2 separate regions of the Homo sapiens genome follow, and region 2 is linked to region 1. The links are contacts of gene promoters, found by promoter capture Hi-C in human tissues and cell types (Jung and others, 2019). All regions are on one chromosome and are shown on one strand. Each heading gives the region's core, a stretch centred on a gene start or on the middle of the fragment in contact. The rest is flanking DNA. Distances are from core to core; before and after follow the strand shown.

The links. Contacts are between HindIII fragments. The study calls those that stand out against the background at their distance.
Region 2: a contact is called between a fragment that was not itself captured here and the fragment with the promoter of PAX9 in region 1, in 3 of the 25 tissues and cell types used here (H1 embryonic stem cells, mesendoderm cells and thymus).

The regions. Positions count from the first base shown.
Region 1 is chr14:36,658,850-36,663,797 of GRCh38, forward strand. It overlaps PAX9 (paired box 9), which reads left to right and starts at 3,011. Exons shown (of 4, transcript NM_001372076.1): 1 at 3,011-3,244; 2 at 4,048-4,674. The coding sequence starts at 3,241. RefSeq lists a promoter at 1,745-2,942, a cis regulatory region at 2,202-2,714 and enhancers at 3,479-3,990, 3,991-4,500, 4,501-4,948. The HindIII fragment of the contact is 9,466 bases long and covers 1-3,095 here.
Region 2 is chr14:36,585,798-36,590,235 of GRCh38, forward strand. No RefSeq gene overlaps it. Among named protein-coding and RNA genes, the nearest start is that of NKX2-8, 5.4 kb to the left of the region's middle. The HindIII fragment of the contact is 6,603 bases long and covers 1-4,438 here.

The DNA.
Region 1 (4,948 bases), core at 1,761-4,260:
AAGCTTCCCCAGCCACACGCCTGGGCCGAGTCGCCCCCAGAGTCCCCGGCCCCTGCTCCCCTTGGGCGGGTGTACACAAGGATCCGGCCAGCGCCGAGTGTACTGGTTCCTCCCACCCAGTGTAGCCCCCTCCTTCACACTCTCGGCCCGGCTTCCAGTCTCCCACTGAGTAAATATTTATCCAGAGAGCGAGTCGCCCCTCGGAGGAGGCCTCGACGCGGCTAGGGAAAGGCTTTTTGGCTTCTCCCTGGCCTGAGCCAGCTGCAGGCCTTACTGGTGTTTTGGTTTTGGTCTTAAATTTCTCCTTTTAGTCGAAATTCTTCCGATCTCTTTGAGATCTTCTGAGTCCAGAGTGAGCAGTGTAACCAGGCGGCAGACTCCAGCTGACCCTTGTTCTTGTTCTAGGTCCTGCATCCTTACATTCATCGGGACTGACCAGACCTTAGTGTTCTCTCTTTTCCTTCCTTCATCCTCTTTCTCTGCCTCAGATCCGTCGTCTCTCGGTCGGTCTCAGCGGGTCGCTGACTACCTCGCCCTAGCACTCGGTCCGCGCCCCGGGAAGGCTTCAGCATCACCCTCTTCTGCTGGGATCCCGCTGACCCTGTCTGCAGCTTCGGCTTCTCTTGCTCCCAGAGCGGGGTCTTCGGCTTGCCGCGGATACTTAGTGGCCCAAAACACCTAAAATTGACTCTTCCTGCGCTCTTGAGAATGCCAAGAGCACCCAGTACCTGCAACCGCCGGCATGAGTGGGGCCTGCGGGGAGCCGCCAGAGCTGCGGACAGGCCCCCTGCCCACTGAGTTGCTACCCCTGGCACGCCCAGGGGATCCGCAGCAGCTGAGGCCACATGGTCACAGCCAAGTTCAGCAGGTGGAAAGGGAGAGATGGCATTGAACCTATGTGAGAACTGGGAAGATGTGTGGCAGCTGAAGGAGTTGGTAGGAACAAGAGGGAGTTGTATGTTACCTCCATATAACCAGAGCTCTAAACCATATCAGTTTCTGAACCAGTCTAGGCTGGTGCTGCAGAACTGCTAAAGCTCTCGCAGAGTCCCCAGACCCCCCGCGGGACATGAGGTCTTGCCTGTTCGTATGCGAACATCCTTGTACCCGCCTAGCAGCCCTGCAGACTGCAAATTTTCCCTGGGTGCACGGAAGTAGAGCAGATTTGGCGCAGAGGTCGATACTCACTGCCTGTCTGTGAGGGGGGAGGAGGATTCCTTCCTGGTCAAGTTGCCGGGCATGTTCATTCCCTCCCGCAAGCCTAAGGCAGAGTCATAAGCTCCCCTACGATGCGGCAAAGTCTCAACTAATTTATCTACCAGCCTTAAGAAGGAGCTGCTGCTTCTAAAATCTTTAGATTTCCGAAGGCTCTCCTTGTGTAAAAATGCCAGGCGGTGCCACACGATGTCACCCAACAGGTATTGGAGGTCAGACCAGGCTGAAATTGCTATCAAGTCAAACTTCAAGAAGATTTTAAACATTTGAAACCAACCAACAAAAAGGGACAAGTTCAAGTATGTCTAGTTGTGGGATTTCCCCCAAGATTCCGATTCTAAAGAGTGGTGTTTTAGTTCATCTTTACCTTTCACATCCTCCATTCTGTTAGGTAATTTTGAATTTAGAGTGCATCCTAACCATAGAAGTGGGAATCTGGAGATCTGTTCCTTTGCAGAAGCATGGCTGATCATAGTTTTTTCCTGGGTTCTTGCAACTTACTGACCTGAGATCTGGGACCAGTCAGCTTCTCTGGGTGTAGACCGCAGCCACACACATCCCTGGGGACTGTTGGGGAAGCAGCCTGAATCCTGTGTGCACAAGGAGCCTTCTGGATTGTCAAGTAGCAGTAACAGAGTTCACGACCCCAAGCAGTACAAACTCCCAAATTCACGAAAATATTTCTCTTCTTGTTTATTATTTTGATTCACATTCTCCACAACCCTAACTGCAAATATTAATAACTTTGGCTGCAAAAAAGCATACGGTACACTTTAGATTAGACTTACAGTGAATAAAAGTGAAAATTCAGAAGTAGGCAGAACGACAGGGCCTCTGGAGCTTAATGGAAGACGAGGGAATTACATCCATGTGCAGCGTCGGTGTCCACTGTCTTGGGACTAAGTCTCTTTCATATTTAAACAAAACTCTTTCGAGAGGGCTCGCTGGTTTGGAGAACCCTCACAAACGCTGCCACCGAGGGCCAGGGGCCCAGGACAGTGGCTGAATGTGGCAGAGCCTTGGGCTCCGTAGTGAGTGCCCCACGCACTGGCAATTGGTCGACTTGGGGCTGTGCGCTAGCGTTAGCCGCCTGTGGTTCAGTTCCCCGCACACGGCGTGGCCCGTGCCTCGAGCCTGTGTGGCTAGTGGTTGGCCGGTCCACCTGGACTGGGGGGTCGCCGCAGGAAGCTGGCGGTAGGAGGAACCTCCCTGGCCTTAACAGTGGCCCCCACCTGTGGCTCGGGCTCCCCGCAACCTCCTGGTTTCTTTGGCCGGCCTATCTTCTCACACCTGCGCTCTCGCCACCTGGCATGGACTGAAGTGAGGTAGAATCGGCAGGTGACACAGATCCTCTCCTGACAGTCCCCAGAGGCCCGCATGACAGATTTTGCTAAGACAACTCCCTCACCCCTGTGCACGGTGGCGCCCGCCTCCCACCTATAGCCTTAACTTCAATTCTGAGATGTCCATCGTTCCCCGGAGGAGGTCTCCTCGGGCCCCTTCTCCCTTCGAGTCATTCACATTCAGACCAAACGCTTTCATTTGTTTATTCAGCATTTTACCAGCCTGATTTTGCTGTCTTTTTGTGCCGCTTCTGGGAAGATGTCAAACACCCATTTTCATTGTATTTAGTCACCCAGGTGGGGAGCTAGCCTGAAAGAGACAGCGGAAGGAGTTTCCTGGACTGCGCTGTCGCTCACCGACCCGCACCAATCACCATGCAGCTTGCCCTCGGACCCGCCCCTTTTAGGGCGTGTCCCCAGTGAGTGATAGACGGAGCCGCCCTGCCCTGCTCAGCCCAGCCCACGTTGCTGCTTAGATTGAAATGCAGAACTCAAGCCTCTTTCATCGGGGCACAGACTTCCTTTTACTTCTTCCTTTTGCCCTCTCGCCTCCTCCTCCTGGGAAGAAGCGGAGGCGCCGGCGGTCGGCCGGGATAGCAACAGGCCGGGCCACTGAGGCGGTGCGGAAAGTTTCTGTCTGGGAGTGCGGAACTGGGGCCGGGTTGGTGTACTGCTCGGAGCAATGGGTGAGTGGCGGCGGGGGACTCTGTCAGAGCCGGGAAGGGAGGGAGGGAGCGAGCGGGCAAGGGAGGGAGGGAGGGAGGGAGCGCGAGGGCGCGCGCCACTAGGCGCTCACATTCTCTATTGACTTTGCTCGTGTTCCTACAAGTTGTAGGAACACGCTAAGGGTCAGCGGCGCACAGCAGTTCAATGTGAACGCTGGCTACTGGGTGGCTGTTGATGCCATTTTCTGATTTTAAGAGAAGGGAGCTGTGGCATCAGCGAGCCCCTCAGCCCGAGTAGCAAACCAAGTTTTGTTTCACACGCGCGCACACATGCAAACAAAACAGGAAAAGAAAAGAAAAGAAAACAAACAACAACAAATAAAACACCCTCTAGCTTCCCCTAGACTTTGTTTAACTGGCCGGGTCTCCAGAAGGAACGCTGGGGATGGGATGGGTGGAGAGAGGGAGCGGCTCAAGGACTTTAGTGAGGAGCAGGCGAGAAGGAGCACGTTCAGGCGTCAAGACCGATTTCTCCCCCTGCTTCGGGAGACTTTTGAACGCTCGGAGAGGCCCGGCATCTCACCACTTTACTTGGCCGTAGGGGCCTCCGGCACGGCAGGAATGAGGGAGGGGGTCCGATTGGACAGTGACGGTTTGGGGCCGTTCGGCTATGTTCAGGGACCATATGGTTTGGGGACAGCCCCAGTAGTTAGTAGGGGACGGGTGCGTTCGCCCAGTCCCCGGATGCGTAGGGAGGCCCAGTGGCAGGCAGCTGTCCCAAGCAGCGGGTGCGCGTCCCTGCGCGCTGTGTGTTCATTTTGCAGAGCCAGCCTTCGGGGAGGTGAACCAGCTGGGAGGAGTGTTCGTGAACGGGAGGCCGCTGCCCAACGCCATCCGGCTTCGCATCGTGGAACTGGCCCAACTGGGCATCCGACCGTGTGACATCAGCCGCCAGCTACGGGTCTCGCACGGCTGCGTCAGCAAGATCCTGGCGCGATACAACGAGACGGGCTCGATCTTGCCAGGAGCCATCGGGGGCAGCAAGCCCCGGGTCACTACCCCCACCGTGGTGAAACACATCCGGACCTACAAGCAGAGAGACCCCGGCATCTTCGCCTGGGAGATCCGGGACCGCCTGCTGGCGGACGGCGTGTGCGACAAGTACAATGTGCCCTCCGTGAGCTCCATCAGCCGCATTCTGCGCAACAAGATCGGCAACTTGGCCCAGCAGGGTCATTACGACTCATACAAGCAGCACCAGCCGACGCCGCAGCCAGCGCTGCCCTACAACCACATCTACTCGTACCCCAGCCCTATCACGGCGGCGGCCGCCAAGGTGCCCACGCCACCCGGGGTGCCTGCCATCCCCGGTTCGGTGGCCATGCCGCGCACCTGGCCCTCCTCGCACTCCGTCACCGACATCCTGGGCATCCGCTCCATCACCGACCAAGGTAGGGGCTCAGAGGCTGGGCGTGTGGATGTGCAGCGTCTGCCCCCGCACTCTCGCGGAGGTCCCAGTATCTGCAGCCTCAGGGACACTGTCTTTCCCACCACCTGAGGCTTTTTCCTTTGGAAACGTAAGGAGTCTTCCTAGGGGGTGTTCTGATCTCATTAACTTGAAACTCATGCCCCTGGTTTCCTTGCCACACACAGTCTTCTGCCTCATCTCAAACTACCAGACCCATAACATCCCCCCATCCCCAACACATGGTTCGCATTTTCCAC
Region 2 (4,438 bases), core at 1,884-4,383, 73 kb before region 1:
TAACTGGACATTATTTCCAGATTTTCATATATTATTTGGTGTTCTGGACAATTGAACTTCTTTGCAACTTAACATACCATGTGAATATTATTATTTAATTAGCTAAGTAGTTGTTTTCTTGTAATTGGATGTAGTATATCTCAATTCCAGTAAGAGTTTTTAATGTTTAGGCACCTGTAATATATGAGTATATTTAAGCTGTCCACAATAATCATCCTTTCAGAAGTATTATCCAGAGATGATTATCACTACCACGTGCTTAAGATTTTAAGACTAGAAAATTCTGAAATAAAACTAAAGCATCTTGATTTTGAAAAAAATGATTGTGTCTATATCTTGCATTCCGTTTTTAAATCCTTCCATTTTGGTTAAGTGTTTCACAAAATCCTGCAAATCTATACAGTATTGAAGAGAGGCAACACTGCAAATTCCCCTTGATAGATGGAGGGCCCTCAACTGCCAGGACATTTTTCTTTGCCTCATAGCAACTGCTCCCCCCTCTTTATCACTGTTGTGGTTAAAATAGCAAAAGGAAAATGAAAATGGGGTTCTGACACTTCCAAGAAGAAGTGGATGATCTTGATTGGTCATAGGATGTAAGGAATAGGCATCATTTAAAATCAGATCTCTTTGCCTTTCTTTCTAAAAACAAGTAAACATTTCCCTTCTAATGGCTAATAATCAATTGCTTCACAGTAGTCCAAGCTTGGCTGTGATTCTTTCTTAGTTATATCGATGATATATACACACAGGACAAGGAACAAACAGCAATTATTTTCAGGCTGGAAATTTAGTCTATTTTTGAAATGGCTTTAGATTTTATTGTTTAATGCCAAATGACAAGATTTGAATGATCCTACCTTCAGTCTCTTAAAATAATGACTTTACATTGACTTTGTTACTGTTCTTGATCTCTAGAGGGAAAGCTTTTCTTTCCTAATATGTTTCTCTAGTTATTTAAGTATGTACATGAAAAAATATATAGAAGTAAAATGGTTCAATTAATTGAAAAATAAACTTATTTTATTAAATATCCATCCTTACCATTTGCTAAAAAGCCAGCAAATAACTGTTTAAATTTTAGTTTATTAAATATTCTAGTCTTCCTTATGCCTTACAATGGTATAATAAGGATAGCTGTTATGGCATGATATGTAAGTTAGCAGAATAAAAATAGTAACACACCTTGGAGGAGGGGTGTCAGATCTTATTTGTCCAGAGCTGAACCTCTTATTTTTGTCTAAGCTTTTTTTTAAAGTACCATGTTATACTCCTTTGCTCAACTGATATAGATGTAGTTTCTATAACACAGAATTCTTATTGATGTTTACATAATAAAGTTCCAGGCCCTAAATCATATTTAATGCTACATGCAGACACTGACAGGGTAGATTGACCCCAGGAACATATTCGATGATCTCAGCCCCAGTATCTCACATAGGCCTACCCATAGTGCGTGCTTATAACTAACCATCAACACTTCAGTTCAAGCCAGTTATTATTTTTTAAATTGCCCAAGCATTATAATGGGGTCTTTTAAAATATACCTTTACTTTGTTCTTAGATCATCTCTGGAATTCTAAAAGAATCCCATCATTAAAGTGAGGTATTATTTCTGTCTTACTTGACAGAAATTTAAACAAAACACTAAACCAATCATTCTGGAGAAGTATTTGTTAATATTCCGTGAAGACAGGGATCCCAGTCTTTCAAAGGGCCAAAGAATCAGATGTTCAATTCTCTTATCGATGTCGACAATAGTAGTAATAAAAATATCACTTCATATTTTACACATTTGAGAATGTTTACAACGTATATTCACACTTAGTCTCAGTCACAAGAGATTATCTGGAAGATGGAAAACTTAAAGAGGGACTTAAAGGCGAGATAGACTGAGATATCCCTAGAATTGAAGAAATCAGTGGGGAGGATGAAGAGGACCTAAATAAGAGAAAGAGAGTCCATTGTAATAGAAGGTATTAGAAAAGAAAGAGTAAAAAGTGAAAGAGAAAGACAGCATGTGCTAGCTTAGAAGCTACAGGTTCAATTTGATCTCATCAACTCAAAGAGGATAAGCATGGATGGAAAAGTTCCAGTTGAGAGTAGCTTTTATATTCTTTCCCAAAGTCTTTATAATTCTAAAAATTACGACAATAGATAAGCTTTAGTTTTTAAAACACTTCAAATTTTTCTAGATCCTATCTAGTTTACTCTTAATTTTCCCTTGGAAAAATCTTTTCCCCTCTTCCAAGAGGTGGCACAAATACACAACAGAAGCAAGAAATGACTGCTTGTGGGAATTTCCCCACAAAAAGAGTAAAAGAACTATATATGTTTACTGCAGCCTCTGGAAATCCCTTAACCAGCAAAGGTGGCTGTCTTTGTATTCTTGATTAAATGGGTATTTGCACTGAAGTCACATACCACACAAAGGAAACAAAACAAAATAAAAATGTCCTCCGTGTTCTGTTTTTCAATCATTTGTGTGAAGGAGGTTCCTGGCCTTTATCACTGTCAGTGAAAAGTTCTTCATTGGCAGGAGACATTCCACTCACCCTGCTTCTTGTGCACAGGGAGCTTACCATGGAAACTACTTCTGGATCCATCAGACAAATATATAAACGACAAAGCTCCACGCTGGGCATTTTAGGTTTAGCGACAGGATATGAAGAAGGGCGTTTAGAATTTCTTGAGAAATTTATTGTTCTATTTGCCTTGCTCTGAATCTTAAAACCCATAAATTGAACTTGTTTAAGTTAGGAAACAACTAAGAAATGACTTTATCTAAGGAAATTCTTTCTGGCACAAAAATATATATGCCATGTTTAACACAACTTAAGTATAGTAAAACTGTGCTTTAGGTAGATTATTTTTAAATGATAGCTTCAGTATCCCCAAGATAATAAATTCATCCTAATACATGTTTGTATTTTTTAATCGGGTATGGCCTTTAATTAAGTGAGACAAACAAACAAACAAAAAGCCCCATAATTGTTTCTATGCTGACCACATTCCTTTTGTTAACAAGCTCCATCCTAAAGTGTCCTTGGCTTATTCTTAAAATGTAACATTTTGCTTTGTAACACAAACCTGAGGAAACAAGATATCATCTCAGAAAACTTTCATTGCATTTTTTGGATTCCACGTTTTGTCAAGCTCTCATTTGATTTATAACCAACCCCAGGTTACTTCCCCACGGTTTCCAGCTAGTCTGTTTCCAGCTTTCCTCTGCTCGTGGTCCACATGAACTCACCGTGAAGACCATCTGTGCTTGACACATCCACCCATGAGCAGCGTGTTTCCAGTGCTCATTTTCATTAGCAGCTCCTCACGTCAAGTCAGTTTACATAAACTCGACTGATATATTCTTGGATGGCTATGCCATCAGGATGTGCACATTTTTATACATAATGAAAACACAGTTTTTTTTCTTGGGCACTGGGAGTAAGGATATGTTCAGTCAGTTTGTAGTATGAGAAAGAAATAGATGGTCACAGATTCTATTGTAGTTGCTTCTTTAGGTTTGGCTACTTTAAAACCAAAACAAAACCTTCCTTTTAAAAATTTTTCTTACACGAAAGGACTGGGCTATAAGGCCGATTTAGACGGGGAAAATCAAAAGTATAAATATGTACCTAAAGTTAGACATTCTATTTCTTACGTATTATTAAAATGATTTTATAATGATAAATTTTGTGAAAGCTCAGATGCCAGAATGCAGGGGTTATCCAAGATCATTAGCAGGTCATCCCTGGTGAATTTAACCTTCTGGTTTTTTCTGTAATAAAAATAAAAAACTACTCAAGTTCCATGAATTATTTTAGTCATCTCTTTTATAGAACCATTAGGAAAAGTACATGAATATCTCCTTTTATGAATTACACTGTTTTTCTGTTATTGAAATTTTCTATTATTCAAATCCTAGGGAAGTCGGAGTGAGATCCTGATTCTCCAGGCAGCTGATTGATCACAAGAGCATCCCTAAGGGGTAGCATGGGGATGGGGATGAAGGGAGAAACCTACAAGTGTCTCTAACTGAATCTGAGGTAGTTTGCACTGAAGGGAGGTGGGTGGGACAGGGTGAAGGGAAGGAGGAAGGGAGGAGAAAGTGAGAGGGTGAGTGCTTGTCTCAGCTTAGGGATTCCCCATCTCCAGCCAGCCAGGGCTTTTACCAGTTGGAGGATGGTAAAGGGAAGGCAAGTGGCAGGGAGTCAGTTTCATCACCTCTGGAGTACCACACCACCAAGTGTAGAGGAGAAAGGGCTTGGTGGTTTGTTCAGATGCCAATTAAGGGACCCGAAGGCCTGTACATTTTAAAAGTCCATGTAGGGAACAAAGTCTGATATGTAGGGATCCTGTTGTGATTTGTTTTTTTGTTTGGTTGTGTGTGTGTGTGTGTGTGTGTGTGTGTGTGTGTGTATGTGATTTTGGGGGTTTT